5 separate regions of the Homo sapiens genome follow, and all the other regions are linked to region 4. The links are contacts of gene promoters, found by promoter capture Hi-C in human tissues and cell types (Jung and others, 2019). All regions are on one chromosome and are shown on one strand. The core of a region is centred on a gene start or on the middle of the fragment in contact, and the rest is flanking DNA. Distances in the headings are between cores, read along the strand shown. Region 1 has its middle 4.3 kb from the start of TRAPPC10. Region 2 overlaps TRAPPC10 (trafficking protein particle complex subunit 10). Region 3 holds the start of SIK1 (salt inducible kinase 1). Region 4 holds the start of PDXK (pyridoxal kinase). Region 5 has its middle 23 kb from the start of TRAPPC10.

Evidence for each region. Contacts are between HindIII fragments. The study calls those that stand out against the background at their distance.
Region 1: a contact is called between a fragment that was not itself captured here and the fragment with the promoter of PDXK in region 4, in 3 of the 25 tissues and cell types used here (dorsolateral prefrontal cortex, lymphoblastoid cells and spleen).
Region 2: a fragment that was not itself captured here is called in contact with the fragment with the promoter of PDXK in region 4 in 2 of the 25 tissues and cell types used here (dorsolateral prefrontal cortex and lymphoblastoid cells).
Region 3: a contact is called between the fragment with the promoter of SIK1 here and the fragment with the promoter of PDXK in region 4, in 4 of the 25 tissues and cell types used here (IMR-90 fibroblasts, dorsolateral prefrontal cortex, lymphoblastoid cells and 1 more).
Region 5: a contact is called between a fragment that was not itself captured here and the fragment with the promoter of PDXK in region 4, in 2 of the 25 tissues and cell types used here (dorsolateral prefrontal cortex and lymphoblastoid cells).

Annotation. Positions count from the first base shown.
Region 1 is chr21:44,006,618-44,009,317 of GRCh38, reverse strand. No RefSeq gene overlaps it. Among named protein-coding and RNA genes, the nearest start is that of TRAPPC10, 4.3 kb to the left of the region's middle. The HindIII fragment of the contact is 5,883 bases long and covers 1-2,700 here.
Region 2 is chr21:44,068,793-44,071,492 of GRCh38, reverse strand. The region is part of intron 7 of TRAPPC10 (trafficking protein particle complex subunit 10); the gene reads right to left. Among named protein-coding and RNA genes, the nearest start is that of PWP2, 37 kb to the left of the region's middle. The HindIII fragment of the contact is 4,440 bases long and covers 1-2,700 here.
Region 3 is chr21:43,425,881-43,428,580 of GRCh38, reverse strand. SIK1 (salt inducible kinase 1) reads left to right here and starts at 1,450. Exons shown (of 14, transcript NM_173354.5): 1 at 1,450-1,571; 2 at 2,389-2,558. The coding sequence starts at 2,403. The HindIII fragment of the contact is 13,239 bases long and covers 1-2,700 here.
Region 4 is chr21:43,717,751-43,720,450 of GRCh38, reverse strand. It overlaps PDXK (pyridoxal kinase), which reads right to left and starts at 1,322. Exons shown (of 11, transcript NM_003681.5): 1 at 1,070-1,322. The coding sequence starts at 1,156. It overlaps LOC124905032 (a long non-coding RNA gene), which reads left to right and starts at 1,903. Exons shown (of 2, transcript XR_007067896.1): 1 at 1,903-2,236. RefSeq lists silencers at 334-523, 681-990, 1,031-1,820 and enhancers at 1-629, 1,971-2,020. The HindIII fragment of the contact is 22,908 bases long and covers 1-2,700 here.
Region 5 is chr21:43,987,711-43,990,410 of GRCh38, reverse strand. No RefSeq gene overlaps it. Among named protein-coding and RNA genes, the nearest start is that of TRAPPC10, 23 kb to the left of the region's middle. The HindIII fragment of the contact is 8,875 bases long and covers 1-2,700 here.

The DNA.
Region 1 (2,700 bases), core at 9-2,508, 290 kb before region 4:
AGCCCAGCATGGTACGTCCAGTAATGGAACTACAAACTAGAACGAAAGTCAGGATTTTTCAGTGGAAGAGCACCCTGAGTCTCCCTCATTTGTTATTTATCAGTGTTGAATATACACTAAAAAAACAAAAATCACTAAACATACAAAGAAAGAGGAAAACGTAAGCCATAGTTAAGAAAAAAAAAAAGCAGTTAACAGAAACCAATCCCCCTACAATGAACCAGATTCTGTATTTACAAAGATTCTAAAGCAGCTCTACATATGTCCAAAGGAGGCTGGGCACGGTGGCTCACACCTGTAATCCCAGAAATTTGGGAGGCCGAGGTGGGCAGATCACTTGAGCCCAGGAGTTTGAGATCAGCCTGGCCAACATGGTGAAACCCCATCTCTACTAAAAACACAAAAATTAGCTGGGTGTGGTGGCGCACGCCTGTAGCCCCAGCTACTCGGAAAGCTGAAGCAGGAGAATCGCTTGAATCCGGGAGGTGGAGGTTACAGTGAGCCAAGATAGTGCCACTGCACTCCAGCCTGGGTGACAGAGCAAGACTCCATCTCAAAATAAATAAAAATAATATGTCCAAAGGATTAAATGAAAATATTGTCTTAATGAGTAAAGAATCAGAAATTCACAGCAGAATAACAAAGTATCTAAAAGAATCAAAAGAAAAGTCTAGAACTGAAAAGTACAATAACAGAAATGAAAATTTCACTGAATTGGATTAACAGATTGGAGAAAACAGGAGTTTGGGATCTTGAAGGCAGATGGATAGAAATTATTTAATCTGAAGAAGAGAAAAAAGTTGAAGAAAAGTGGAGAGAACCTCAGAGACCTATGGGACAGTATGAAATGGCCAAAAGCATGTGTGATCGGAGCTCCAGAAGGAGAGTATGAGTCTAGGAAGGAAACATTTTTGCAAAATGATGGCTCCAAATCCAAACACGTGGTGAAAAATACTGATTTACAGATCAAGAAATTCAGCAAAACCTGAAGAGAACACATACAAAGAAAATTACATGCAGGCATATCATACTCAAACTGGTGAAATAGATCAAGAGAAAAAAAATGTTTTGGTGGGGGGACAGGGTCTTGCTCTGTCGCCCAGGCTGGCGTGCAGGGGCACAGTCACGGCTCACTGTAGCCTCAGTCTTCTGGCTTCAAGCCATCCTCCCACTACAGCCTCCCAAGTAGCTGGGACCACAGGCACGTACCACCATGCCAGCTAATTTTTTAATTTTTTGTAGAGACGGCAGGGGGTCTTCCCCAGGCTGGCCTTGAACTCCTGACCTTAGGTGATCTGCCCACCTTGGCCTCCCAAAGTGCTGGGTTACAGGCATAAGCCACTGCACCCGGCCCTTCTCATAATTTCTTTAAGAGACCACTGACTGTTTAAAACAAACAATAGCTTGTGATACTTCTACAGTGTGTGTAGAAGTAAAAGGTAAGGACAGTGTGAAGGATGGATGGTGAGAGGTAACCCACTGATAAGCTCCTCACACTGTGAAGTGTGGAACTCCAGGTGTGAGGTGCAAGATGCAAAGGGTTATGTATGAAGAGGGAAGACTGAAGTGATACAATATTGACCCTACATTAAATTTGATATGTGAGGCATACGTAGTCTGTGCCCAGGAGAAAAAGCACTAGGGAAAAAATGAACAAAAGGGGTTTGGCTAAGAAGCCAATAAAGAAAAGAGAAATAATAGAAAATATCTGACTAATCCAAAAGAAGTCAGGGAAAGAACAACAGGAGAAAGACAGAAAGGACCAGTTATGTCAGGAAAAGACACTCAGCGCTCATTAGACATCAGGGAAATGCAAGTTAAAATGAAAATGAGATGCCACTTCACATGTACTCAAATCGATAAAATTTAAATTTATAATTAAAAACCCTGACGAGGCCAGGCACGGTGGCTCATGCCTGTAATCCCAGTGCTTTGGGAGGCTGAGGTGGGCCTCAGGAGTCAGGAGTCCGAGACCAGCCTGGCCAACATGGTAAAACCCCGTCTCTACTAAAAATACAAAAAATTAGCCAGGCGTGGTGGCGTGCACCTGTAATCCCAGCTACTTGGGAGGCTGAAGCAGGAGAATCGCTTGAACCCGGGAGGCGGAGGTTGCAGTGAGCCGAGATTGCACCACTGCGCTCCAGCCTGGGGAACAGAGCTAGACTCTGTCTCAAAAAACAAAAAATAAGTAAATAAAAAATAAAAACCCGACAATACCAAGTGTAGACTCCAAGCCGAGGAATATCTATGTCTTTGTACTGTTCTCACAGAGAACTGAGTCCAGCTGCTCTGAGAAGACAGACACTAGCCATTCCCCTTCCCGAAGACGTGGACACAGCGTTGTGCGGCTGGATGGGCTCCCACGTTAGGGAGTGTTCTTTCTGGAGGAAGGGAGGCAAAGGCAGAATCCCCTCCTCCAATCCCACCGGCTCTGGTCCAGGCAGCCTTTGGTGCGTGGGCAGTAAGTGGACTGCAAGCCTATTTTCCCTCTGAGCAGACCTATAAGAGATTTTTTTTTTCCACTTGGGAATTTAGAAAATGCTTGAATTCAGCACAAACACTGGTTTGGCACTTTCTTTTAATGAATCATGGTGAAATGATGCTAGTCCTGTCAATCGATGTTCATTCTTTTTTTTTTTTTTTTAGTACCTTTTTTCATGAGGCAGCATTTGGGGTGTTTTTTATTTTGTTTTATTGTTT
Region 2 (2,700 bases), core at 6-2,505, 350 kb before region 4:
TGGGCTCCACAGCAGCGAGACCTTCCACAGTAAGACATCTAAGACTTCCAGACATGTTAACGAAACAAATTTATTTAAAACCTAATTGCAGTGATACTTTTTCATTGCTTTGAAAAAACAAGTGGCAAAATGCATACAACAAGGTATGTGAAGGGCACAAACCCTAAATTTAGAGGTCGATGATTTTTACAAATGTAACCACCACCTAATCAAGAAATAAAATTATCCTAGAAGGTTCTCTCAAGTCCCTTTTCCCGGTCAAGATCCACCCCAAAGAGGCACCCGGCTCCTGACTTCGGCCACCATCAATTCCTTCTGGCTGATTTGTGAACTTCATATAATGAAATCACACAGCATGTCCTCCTTTGTGCATGGGGCTTCTTTAATTCCACACAGTATCTTTAAGATTCAACCTTGCTGAGTCTGTCGGCCTGTTCTTTTTCACTGCTGCTTATTAAACCTTTCTACAAGTTGGCCACAGTTTATTTATCCACTCCTATCAAGTGTCTGGGTTGTTTCCAGTGTTTGGCTACTATGGGTAAAGCTATTTGCAATGTTACCCCTGCCTCAACGGAGGGATGACTTCTCAGGGTCCGAAGACGCCCCCAGGCCCAAGTGCGCCAGGCTACTCACAGCAGAACACAGGCAGTGCCAGCACTCTTCTCCCACCAGCATCCCTGCAGCAGAGACGCAAGAGCTCGGGGGAAGGGGACAGAGAGTGCCAGAGCCACCCTGGCTTATTTTACCCATTAGAGTGCAGCTTGAGAATAAAAAACAAGAGTCTCACAAACTCTGGAAAAGAGCAATTGTTCTGCAGCCATGGCTTCATGGCTTTGAGTCGTCCAAACAAATGTCAGCCCCTTGCTCCTAAATGGTGGCCGACACAGAAAATGGGCACCTCAGCCAACAGCACGAAGGCCATGCCTCTATGGTGGCATCTGCCACCCAGCATGCCACAGCACCCAACACAACAAAGACCAAGCCTCCGCTCTGCCCTGAGAGCCTGAGACTGAATGGCAGAGCGTGCAGCTTGGTCACCTCACTCTGGAACCGGGTGGTGGCCTCACCGTCTCCAGAAAACTCACATTTCCCTAATGGGCCATCAGATACCTCTTGGCCATCTGGATATCATCTTTTGTGAATAACAGACTTCTTAAACAAATTCTTAATTTATATTAATTTTCCTTAAAGTCCCTCCTCCTCTCCTGATTGCTGTATTAGCAATGGCAAGTGCCATCTTGCCACTTCCAAGTATAAAATTAAAGGCATTCTTGTTCTTCTCTCTTTTGATACCCCTACCACTTGAGTGCAACCCACACACTGGAAGGTACATGAGTCCTAGGTGAACGCCTGCTATGCCTCCCGTGAAGGCAGCTCCCGCTGGAACTCCCTGCCAGTCACCAGCCCCTCCACCTGCCAGAGAGCTCACAGCAGACTGGTGTAGCTTCACCGTGAACTTCAGACACAAGGAATCAAAAAGTATGCCCTCTCTTATCGCTTCAACCCGGGAGGCAGAGGTTGCAGTGAGCCAAGATCACGCCACTGCACTCCAGCCTGGGAAACAGAGCAAGACTCCATCTCAGAAAAAAAAAAAAAGTATGCCTTCTCTTGTGTCTAACTTCTTTAGCTCAACTTCAGGTTGGTTAGAGTCATCCACTACGACCCATTCACGTTCATCACTGTACCCTAGCACACTACAGGGCCACGGTGCAACGTTGTCATCCCTTGGACAAGATGAACATTTGAGTTCTTCCCCGTTTGCAGCTCCAATGACTCACGGGTGCCACAGGTATCTCTGTGTACTTGCCTTCTGATGCATGTGTGTGTGCATGTATCTGTACACACCAGGGGTGGATGTGCTGGGTCACGGGGCATGTGTTGTAATGGCGATACCCATTAGATATCGCAAACAGCCTTCCAAAGTGGTCCCAGTGATGCACACTACCATCAGTGAATGAGCGCCAGCATCTCCACCCTCCCACTGATACCCGAGGAAAGCCTTTCCATCCTGGCCATTCTGGTGGTGTGTGCTGGTACTTCATTAATAATGGCTTCAGTTTGCATTTTGCTATGATTCATGAGACTGAGCCCCTTTTCATGTTTATCGGCCATTTGGATTTCCTCTCTTGCCTGTTTTTCTACTGGTTTGTCAGTCTTTCTGCATTGATGTATGTGAGTTCTTCACAGTACGCCCTGGAGTAAGGGCCCTTTCTTGTCTATATATACTGGTTGTACTCTTCCAAGCTGCGGAGGGCCTTTTCACTCCCTTCAGAGTACCTTTCAGTGAAGAGAAGCACTGATGTTTACGTAGTCTAATGCAGGACCCTCTTCCTTCACGGCTGGTGCATAACCATAAAGGTTTCATGTCCTATTTAAGGAATATTTGCCAACCTTAAGGTCCCAAAGACATTTTCCCAAGTTATCTTCAAGAGTTTTCTTATTTTATTTTTCATGTTTAGATCAAAACTCCACCTGGAATTAATTTTGTTTATGGGGTGAGATCAAGATTTGTTTTTATATATGGATATCCAGTGGACCCAGAACCATCAATTCACTAAATTTTTCTTGAACCTATTTATTTAAAATCTGCCGGCTGGGTGCAATAGCTCACGCCTGTAATCCTGGCACTTCGGGAGGCTGAGGAGGGTAGATCACTTGCGCTCAGGAGTTCAAGACCAGCCTGGGCAACATAGTGAAACC
Region 3 (2,700 bases), core at 201-2,700, 290 kb after region 4:
TTAGTTCTCCTAGGAGCGGATTAACAGGGTGTTGGGACCTCCAAAAGGAAAAAAGGCAGTTGTACACTGTTCAGCTGAAAGGAACTAAAAATATTCCCCCGTATTCTTGGTATATAAACCTGGGACAAAGAAAAACACTCTGAACGATTAAGGAAAACTTTGGGACTCTTCATTTCCTTGAAAGCCTTTGAAAACCAACTGACTCCCAAACAACCCGTGTGTGTGTGTGTGTGTGTGTGTGTGTGTGTGTGTGTGTGGCGATTGGGAAATCTGTGGTCAGACCCTCGGGCGAATGAGGAGAAGCTCATCCTCGTTTCTCCGGGCCCTCCTCCCAGGCGTCCGTCCAGGCAGGAAAGCCTCCCGAGAAGGGTTCCAAGTTTTGTGCCAACTCCCCTGAATTCTCGTTCCCCCTTCTGTGAAGTAGTGTTATTTAACACAAGGAAAACTGACCCTAGGCTCGATCCAGAATCTAACTCCCAAATGGGTCCTCAGGCTTAAAAAATACCTTCGCCCACAGCCTCTGTCTCCCCTGAAGAAAACGTTTTCCGTTCGGATGAGGCATCGGCCACGGGCAAGCAAGTGGTCCCGCGCCCCCGTCCCCTACCCAGGCGGCCGGCCTGGCTCCGTCACCGCCCGCAGCGTCCGCCCGGGGCCCGCGCGGGAAGAGGGTCCCAGCCCCACATGCTGCGGGGGCAGCCCCGGGACGCGCAGACGCCAGCGCCGCTGAGGGCCGGGGCCGGGACCGGCCGCGCGGCGGGGGCTTCCAGAGCGGCCGGTCACGCTTCCTTAGGTTTCAAGTTTCTAACTTGCTGAACATTTCAGATTTTAACAGCAAAAGCGGCTGACGTCCCCGCGGGCAAGCGGCCTCTCGGGGTCTGCAGCGCCCCAGGGCATCCGCGCCGCCAGCCCCACGCGCGAGCCCGCGAGGCCCCCGGGCCCCCGCACGTCCCGAGGCTCTGAGTCTGGACGAACGCAGGCCGCGTGGAGGGGCCGGCGACCCCTGCCCGAGAGCCGTCCCCTCCTGGAGGGAGCGAGCACAAGGCGCCCGCGGGACCCGGCCCGAGTGCCCGAGCGTGGAGGGGCGGGCGCGCCCTCGGCGGTGGGGCCGCCCGCAGTGCCCCCAGCGCCCGGGAGGGGGCGCCCGGCGGAGCGCAGGCGGGCGGGCCTCGGGCGGCGGGCGCCCCTGACGTCACCGGCCCGCGGTCGCCAGGGCAACGGCCTCATCCCGCGCGCGTCAGAGCCGCCAGTCTCTTGGCAACCGCCCGATCTCCCGCTCTCCCTCCGCCCGGCGCTCGGCCGCGCGTCGCTCTGGCGTCAAAGCGACGTCAATGGGCGGCCCCCGCCCGGGCGGCGGGGGCGGGGCAGGGGGCGGGGACTACGGGGGGCGGGCCGGGGCGGGCCGGGGCGGGGCCGGGCGCCGCGTGCGGCGGAGCGCGGCGGCTCCGGGCTGACATGCGGCGCGGCCCCGGAGGCAGCAGCAGCGGCGGCGGCAGCCGGAGCAGTAGGCACCCGAGCAGCGCCAGCGGCCGAGCGGGCGGCTTCCTGGCCTGGGCGCTCCGGTGGCGGCGGAGGTGAGGCGGCGGCAGCGGCGGCAGCGGCGGCAGCGGCGGGCTCCGGGCGGGCGGAGGTGGCCGCCGTGGGGGCTCCGCGCGGGCGCCGGGCCGGGGCTCGGGGTTGCAGCCACCGCGCAGGGTCCCTGGCCTTGCGCGCGCGGGGTTCGCGGGCGGGGTTGGCGGCCTGGCCGCCCTCGGGCTCCCCTTTGTTGGGGGGCCGGGGTAGGAGTGAGTCCGCGGGGCTCAGGGGCTGGGGAGCCGGGGGTCAGGTTGGAGCCGACCGCGGGCGGAGATACCGGGTGTGGGGGGCGGGTCCGCGATCCCCGAGGTGCCTGGGATGTCGGGGGTGGGGACCGGACGGATCGCGGGCGGCGGGGGCAGGGTGTGGGAGCGGGGCAGGGGACGGTCCTGGGATCCGGATCGAGCCGACCTCGGGTGGCAGGGCCAGGTGTGGGAGCGGGTCCGCGCCCAGAGGTGCTAAAGGGGTCGAGGGTGGGGACGGAACCGACAGCGGGCGGCGGGAGGCGAGTGTGGAATCCCGGCTCAGGGGGTCCCGGGATCGGGACGGAACCGGACTCGGGCGGCAGGGGCCTCTATGAGAGCGGGTCCGTGCGCCCCGCGGGGCTCAAGAGGGTCGGGGGTCCGGGTGGAGCGGGCGGCGGGGGCGGGTCCACACCTCCCACGGGGCTGGAGGGGCCCGTGGATAGAGTGGGGGCGACAGGCGTGGGAGCAGGTCCCTGCGTCCCGTGGGGACTGGGGGCTCCGCGGGCACGGATGGAGCCGACCGCGGGCGGCGGGGGCGCTGGTGGGCTCTGAGCTCTGTGCGGCCCCGCAGGTGCGCGCGGAGCCATGGTTATCATGTCGGAGTTCAGCGCGGACCCCGCGGGCCAGGGTCAGGGCCAGCAGAAGCCCCTCCGGGTGGGTTTTTACGACATCGAGCGGACCCTGGGCAAAGGCAACTTCGCGGTGGTGAAGCTGGCGCGGCATCGAGTCACCAAAACGCAGGTGCGTGGGGGCGGTGGGACCCAGCCGGCGGGGCCTCCCCACTGGACCCGGGGCGACCCGACCTTTGGCGGGTGGACCCCATGCAGATTCACTGCTCCAGGCTTGATTGTCGTGGTGGGTAAATAGTAACCGTTTTTAGTTC
Region 4 (2,700 bases), core at 73-2,572:
GCCTAGGTCAGCCCTCAAATTCCACTGAAGCTCTGCTCCCCTCTTCCTGTCCTCCTCCCAGGCCAGCCCGCACCGCAGGCCCCGCCGTGCCCAGGTGGCCCTTCTTTACATCCCGTGGGGCCCAGCACAGGGACCAGGCATACCTGCTCCCGTCCCCAGTGACCAGGCCGCAGGTGGGCAGCACAGGAGAGCACGACCCGGCAGGGCACCCCCAGCCCTCCTGCTGACTCGACAAGGCCAGGAAGTGCCCGTCGTCCTGGTTCTGCCTCGGCCCTGCGTGACACCCACGCCACTGCACCCAGGCCTCTCCTACCCCTCCACGGGCCACTTAGCTGCAACCAGGAGGCCGTGGGCCAACGCGTTTTAAAAGCTGGCTCCCTAAAGCCAATCCGCACAGTCCCGAACTGCTCTCTGGGGCTTCTCCTCGTCAGAGCAAACACCTGCAGGGATGCCGCTCTGCTAGAGGGTGCAGAGCAGCCCCTGCCCCACCCTCTTCCCTTCGGCCACCTCCTGGCGTGGTCAGGCCGAGGGGAATCCACCCTCGTGGGCACCGTGACCTCACTCGGCGTCTTCTTCCTGACTTCCCCACGCACAGGGGCCCAGGAGGTGAGCGCGCGAGCGTCTCGAGCTCCACGGCCGCTTCTGCGTTCCAGCGGGGCAAGGTCCCGGCTCGCGTGACTGCTCCGGGACTCCTCGGGGCTCTGCGACATTTCCTCGCCTCCGGGAGCCGCACCGCCCGCCCGCCCCCGCGGCAGTTGGCCCGGTCGGCGGGAAGGGGCGAGGACGAGCGGCTGCGCCATAGCTGGTGCACAGGGCTCCCTCCTACCCGCGTACCCCGACGCCGGACCCGTCCCACCCGCAGGGGCCCGCAGAGCGCTCAGCCCTCCGCTTCCGCCCCCGCAAGCCAAGCAGAGCGGGAGGCTCATCCCGCGCCTGCCTCCAGGGCGCCCGCGCCAGGCTCTGCCCGCAGCTCCCGAGCCTCCCTCGGGGAACTGAGGCTCGTCTCGGGCAGCCCCGCCAAGGTCACGGGCTCGGGTTACGTAAGCCCGGGCTGCGGGCGGATGCGTACCTGCAGCGGGAACGTGGCCGCCCGGTTGCCCACGTAGCCGCGGATGACGTGGCTCTGTATGGAGAGCACCCGGCACTCCTCCTCCATGCCGGGCCTGGCCGCGGCGGCGCGGGGCCGAGGCGGGGGCACGGTCTCCGCCGCTCGCTCGGGCTCCGGCTCGGCTCGGGCTCGGGCTCCGGCCCCGGCTCCCCTCGGCTGCGACTCTGGCTCTGGCGCGCGGCGGACCCGATCAGCGCAGACGCCTCCTTCTGACCTCAGCGGGCGGCTCCGAACCCGCGAGTTCCGCGCGGCGCCGGGGGCTGGCCGGGGGCGGACCGGGGCGGGGACAGCCACGCAGGCCCCGCCCCCGGGCTGGGAGGAAGCGAAACCGGACCCTGGCCGCGCGGCCGCGCCAGGTGGCCCCCGCCACTCTGCCGCCCGAAACGCTGGGTTTGCACTTTCATTCCGCCTGGAGAGGGCTCTGCAGCGCCGTTCATTCGTTCGTTCATTCATTCATTCAACCATTGTGCTCCGCCTCAGCCCTGCGCCCCGCGCCCCGCGCCCCGCGCCCCGCCGCACGCAGGGGAGACTCGGGGGCCCGGGCTCCACGCCCCTGACCTCCGGGCGCGACACTCTCGCAACGCGGATGGCCACGAGAGTGCGCGCGGGCGTGGGAATAGTGCGGAGGCGCGAAAGTGACCCCGGACCCCGGATACCCAAGGGAACCGCGCTCTCAACTGCCTGCAGGGCCCGGAGCCCGCATCCGATCCGCGTCCCTTCCCAGGGGCCGCGCGGGAGCTGACAGACACGGGGCCGGGGGGACCCAGTCAACTCCGCACCGGCCTGGGGCGGCGGGCTTCTCTGGGGGCGCCCCAGACCCTTGCGGACCCTGAGTGCCCACTCTGGTGGCGCGGCCTGCAGAGGCCCCCAGCCGATGGCCACATGCCCGGCCGTCCATCCACAGGTGCCTGGGTCTGGGCCGCGTGTCCGATCCCACCCCAACCAGGTCTTCCTGTGGAGGGCCTGCCTTCGAGGACGAACCTGACCCCCTGGGGGACCCCACAGCCTTCACTTCCCACCCCTACGCTCTCCACAGCTGACGCACTCCCTGCGGCTTCCCTGCACCACCCCGGGGAACGGAGGCCTTTGGGTTCCAGACTTGCAGACATGGTGATTTGGGGCCCTGGGGTCAGTATCACCAGACTAAAGTCTTGGTGACCTAACACAGCGCACCTAGGGCTCTGTAGCTTGGTGAGACCCAATGCCCGACCAGGCGGGTGCTGAGGACTGAGGGAGGAAGACATTACTTAGAGATCTAGGCTTTTAAAAGAAAGTACTTCATAATTAGTCATAATTGTCCATTAATAATAGCTAACATTGGCCGGGCGCGGTGGCTCACGCCTATAATCCCAGCACTTTGGGAGGCTGAGTTGAGCGGATCAAGAGGTCAGGAGTTCAAGACCAGTCTGGCCAACATAATGAAACCCCATCTCTACTAAAAATACAAAAATTTAGCTGGGTGTGGTGGTGTGCACCTGTAATCCCAGCTACTTGGGAGGCTGAGGCAGGAGAATTGCATGAACCCAGGAGGTGGAGGTTGCAGTGAGCCAAGATCGCGCCATTGCCCTCCAGCCCGGGTGACAGTGAGAGAC
Region 5 (2,700 bases), core at 134-2,633, 270 kb before region 4:
AGGCATGAGCCACGGTGCCCAGCCAATTAAAAAAAAATTTTTGTTTTGTAGAGATGGGGTCTTGCTATGTTGCCCAGGCTGGTCTTGAAATCCTAGGCTCAAGTGATCCTCCCACCTCAGCCTCCCAAAGTGCTGGTATTACAGGCATGAGCCACAGTTTCTGGCCAATTAAAAAAAAAATTTTTTTTTTTTTTTTTAGAAATGGGGTCTTGCTATGTTGCCCAGACTGGTCTTGAACTCCTAGGCTCAAGTGATCCTCTGCCTTGGCCTCCCAAAGTGTGAGGCTTACAGGTGTGAACCACTGCACCCAGACCAAAAGGATTTAAGAAGTGACAGGAGGCCAGGCGCAGTGGCTCACGCCTGTAATCCCAGCACTTTGGGAGGCCGAGGTGGGTGGATCACGAGGTCAGGAGATTGAAACCATCCTGGCTAACATGGTGAAACCCCGTCTCTACTAAAAATACAAAAAATTAGCTGGGCATGGTGGCAGGCGCCTGTAGTCCCAGCTACTCGGGAGGCTGAGACAGGAGAATGGCTTGAACCCGGGAGGTGGAGCTTGCAGTGAGCCGAGATTGCGCCACTGTACTCCAGCCTGGGGGACAGAGCGAGACTCCGTCTCAAAAAAAAAAAAAAAAAAAAGAAAGAAGTGACAGGAAAAGATGAATGATGGGGAGGAGGAGACACTGGGGGCTCATGAAAGGTTCCAAGGGGAGAGGAAGCAAAGGCCACTACCACAGCCCCTCCCCTCCATGCTGGCACAGGCAGGGCCCAGGACAGATGCAGGTTTGGGATGCCCCCGGGTCTGCCGGGACAGTAGCCACTTGCTGAGCACCTGTCACGGCCTAAGCCCAGGAGGTACGCTGATCGTCCTGATGACCATCCCCACCTTACAGGCTAGAACACGGAAGGGCATGGAGGCTAAGAACCTTCTTGGCCTGGGCCACACAGGTCCTAAGGAGTGAGTTTTGGGTTTTCATCTAGAGGCCTCCAGACCCCCAAATCCAAGCCTCCCCCGTAACACACTGTCCCACGGAAACACACTTGTGCTCCCCATCTGTGATCGATGGAATGGGCCAATTCAGACAGTAGAGGCACGCTGGGATCTGGCTGGGTTCAAGCAGAGGCTGCGCCAGCAGCTGTGAAGTGAGGTCACACATGTGACCTTGCTGGCATTTCCCATCCCTGGATCCTAAGACTTCGGAGCGGCTCCACCTGGCAAGTGCTATGAGGCTGGGACCGACTGCAGGGCAGCAGCCGAAGCCATGCGGAGCCCTCCGTGGCCTTGTCCTCTGGTGCCTGCCCCTGTGACTGGGCCTGTCCCTCCCCCAGGGGTTCAGCGGCAGGGCATGCACCTGCTGGTGTACGTGCACGTGTGTGTCTGTGTGTGCATGTGTGTGCACGTGCACCCTCACAGGCCCCCTGGCCACACGTGGGACGATCAAGGCTCACGTCCAGGGTACCTGCGGTTGGACTTGTTCCTGCCCAGCCCAGGTGCAGGCCGCCTGCAGTGGAAGAGCTCACATCCAACAGCAAAGCAAAGCTCAGGCCACGTTGCTAGCTTGCTAAGACGTCACGGGACTGTTTGGTTTCTTCATCAAGTTCCTTAGCCCTGGGGGGCCACTTTCTTCAAGAAGGGCTTTTATCTCCATGAACCCTGCTGCTGTGTGAGCCACCTGGACAATTCCGGGTTCTCAGGCACTATGCTCAGAAGAGACGTGAAGAAGGCCAGCTGTGGTGGCTCACGCCTGTATTCCAAGCACTTGGGGAGGCCGAGGCAGGTGGATCACCTGAGGTCAGGAGTTCGAGACCAGCCTGACCAACATGGAGAAACCCTGTCTCTACCAAAAATACATAATTAGCTGGGCATGGTGGCAGGTGCCTGTAATCCCAGCTACTTGGGAGGCTGAAGCAGGAGAATCGCTTGAACCCGGGAAGCAGAGGTTGCGGTGATCCAAGATCACACCATTGTACTCCACAGCCTGGGTGACAGAGCGAAACTCCGTCTCAAAAACAAACAAACAAACAAGAAGAGACATGAAGAGGATGGTTTCCCAAGCCCACTTCCTAACGCTGCCCCTTATTCTTCAGGTGTGCCCGTGTGTGTGCTGGGACGTGTGTACATGTGTGCATGCGTATGGCTATGAAGGTCCCCACACACATGGTGTGTGCATGCATGCACATGTGTACACACTCACATGTCCCAGAATGTCAGGTGGCAGGGACTGACTCCTACGTACTGAGCTTCTGGGTGAAGCGGAGGTGGGATCTGGGCCAATAAAGGCAGGCAATGGGCCTCATGGTTAACCTTGGCCCCTCTCCTGGGTGAGCCAGATGCCTGTGATGCTGGGGGTGATGAAGTCCGAAGGGGTCTGCATGGCTGCCCCCCAGTGCCCGTGAGCACTTGTGTTCAAACAGGCGAAGTGGGGTTCAGGCAAGTCAGTCCCTCTTGTTAGAGGGCAAGGCCTGACCCACCCATGACATCCCCATACCAAGTGGCACCAGGCACTTCACTTTCATCTCCCGAGAAAACAACAGAACATCATGCAAAATTCTGGGTGCTCTGACTTCAGGATATATTTTAAAAAATAAATGGCATCTGGACGCAGGACTTTGAGCCAGGCCTTCCCAGCTTCTCAGGAGCTGGGCTAAGCACCAGCATGGACCTGTCACCCTCACTGATGCCATTAGGGAAGGAGGCAG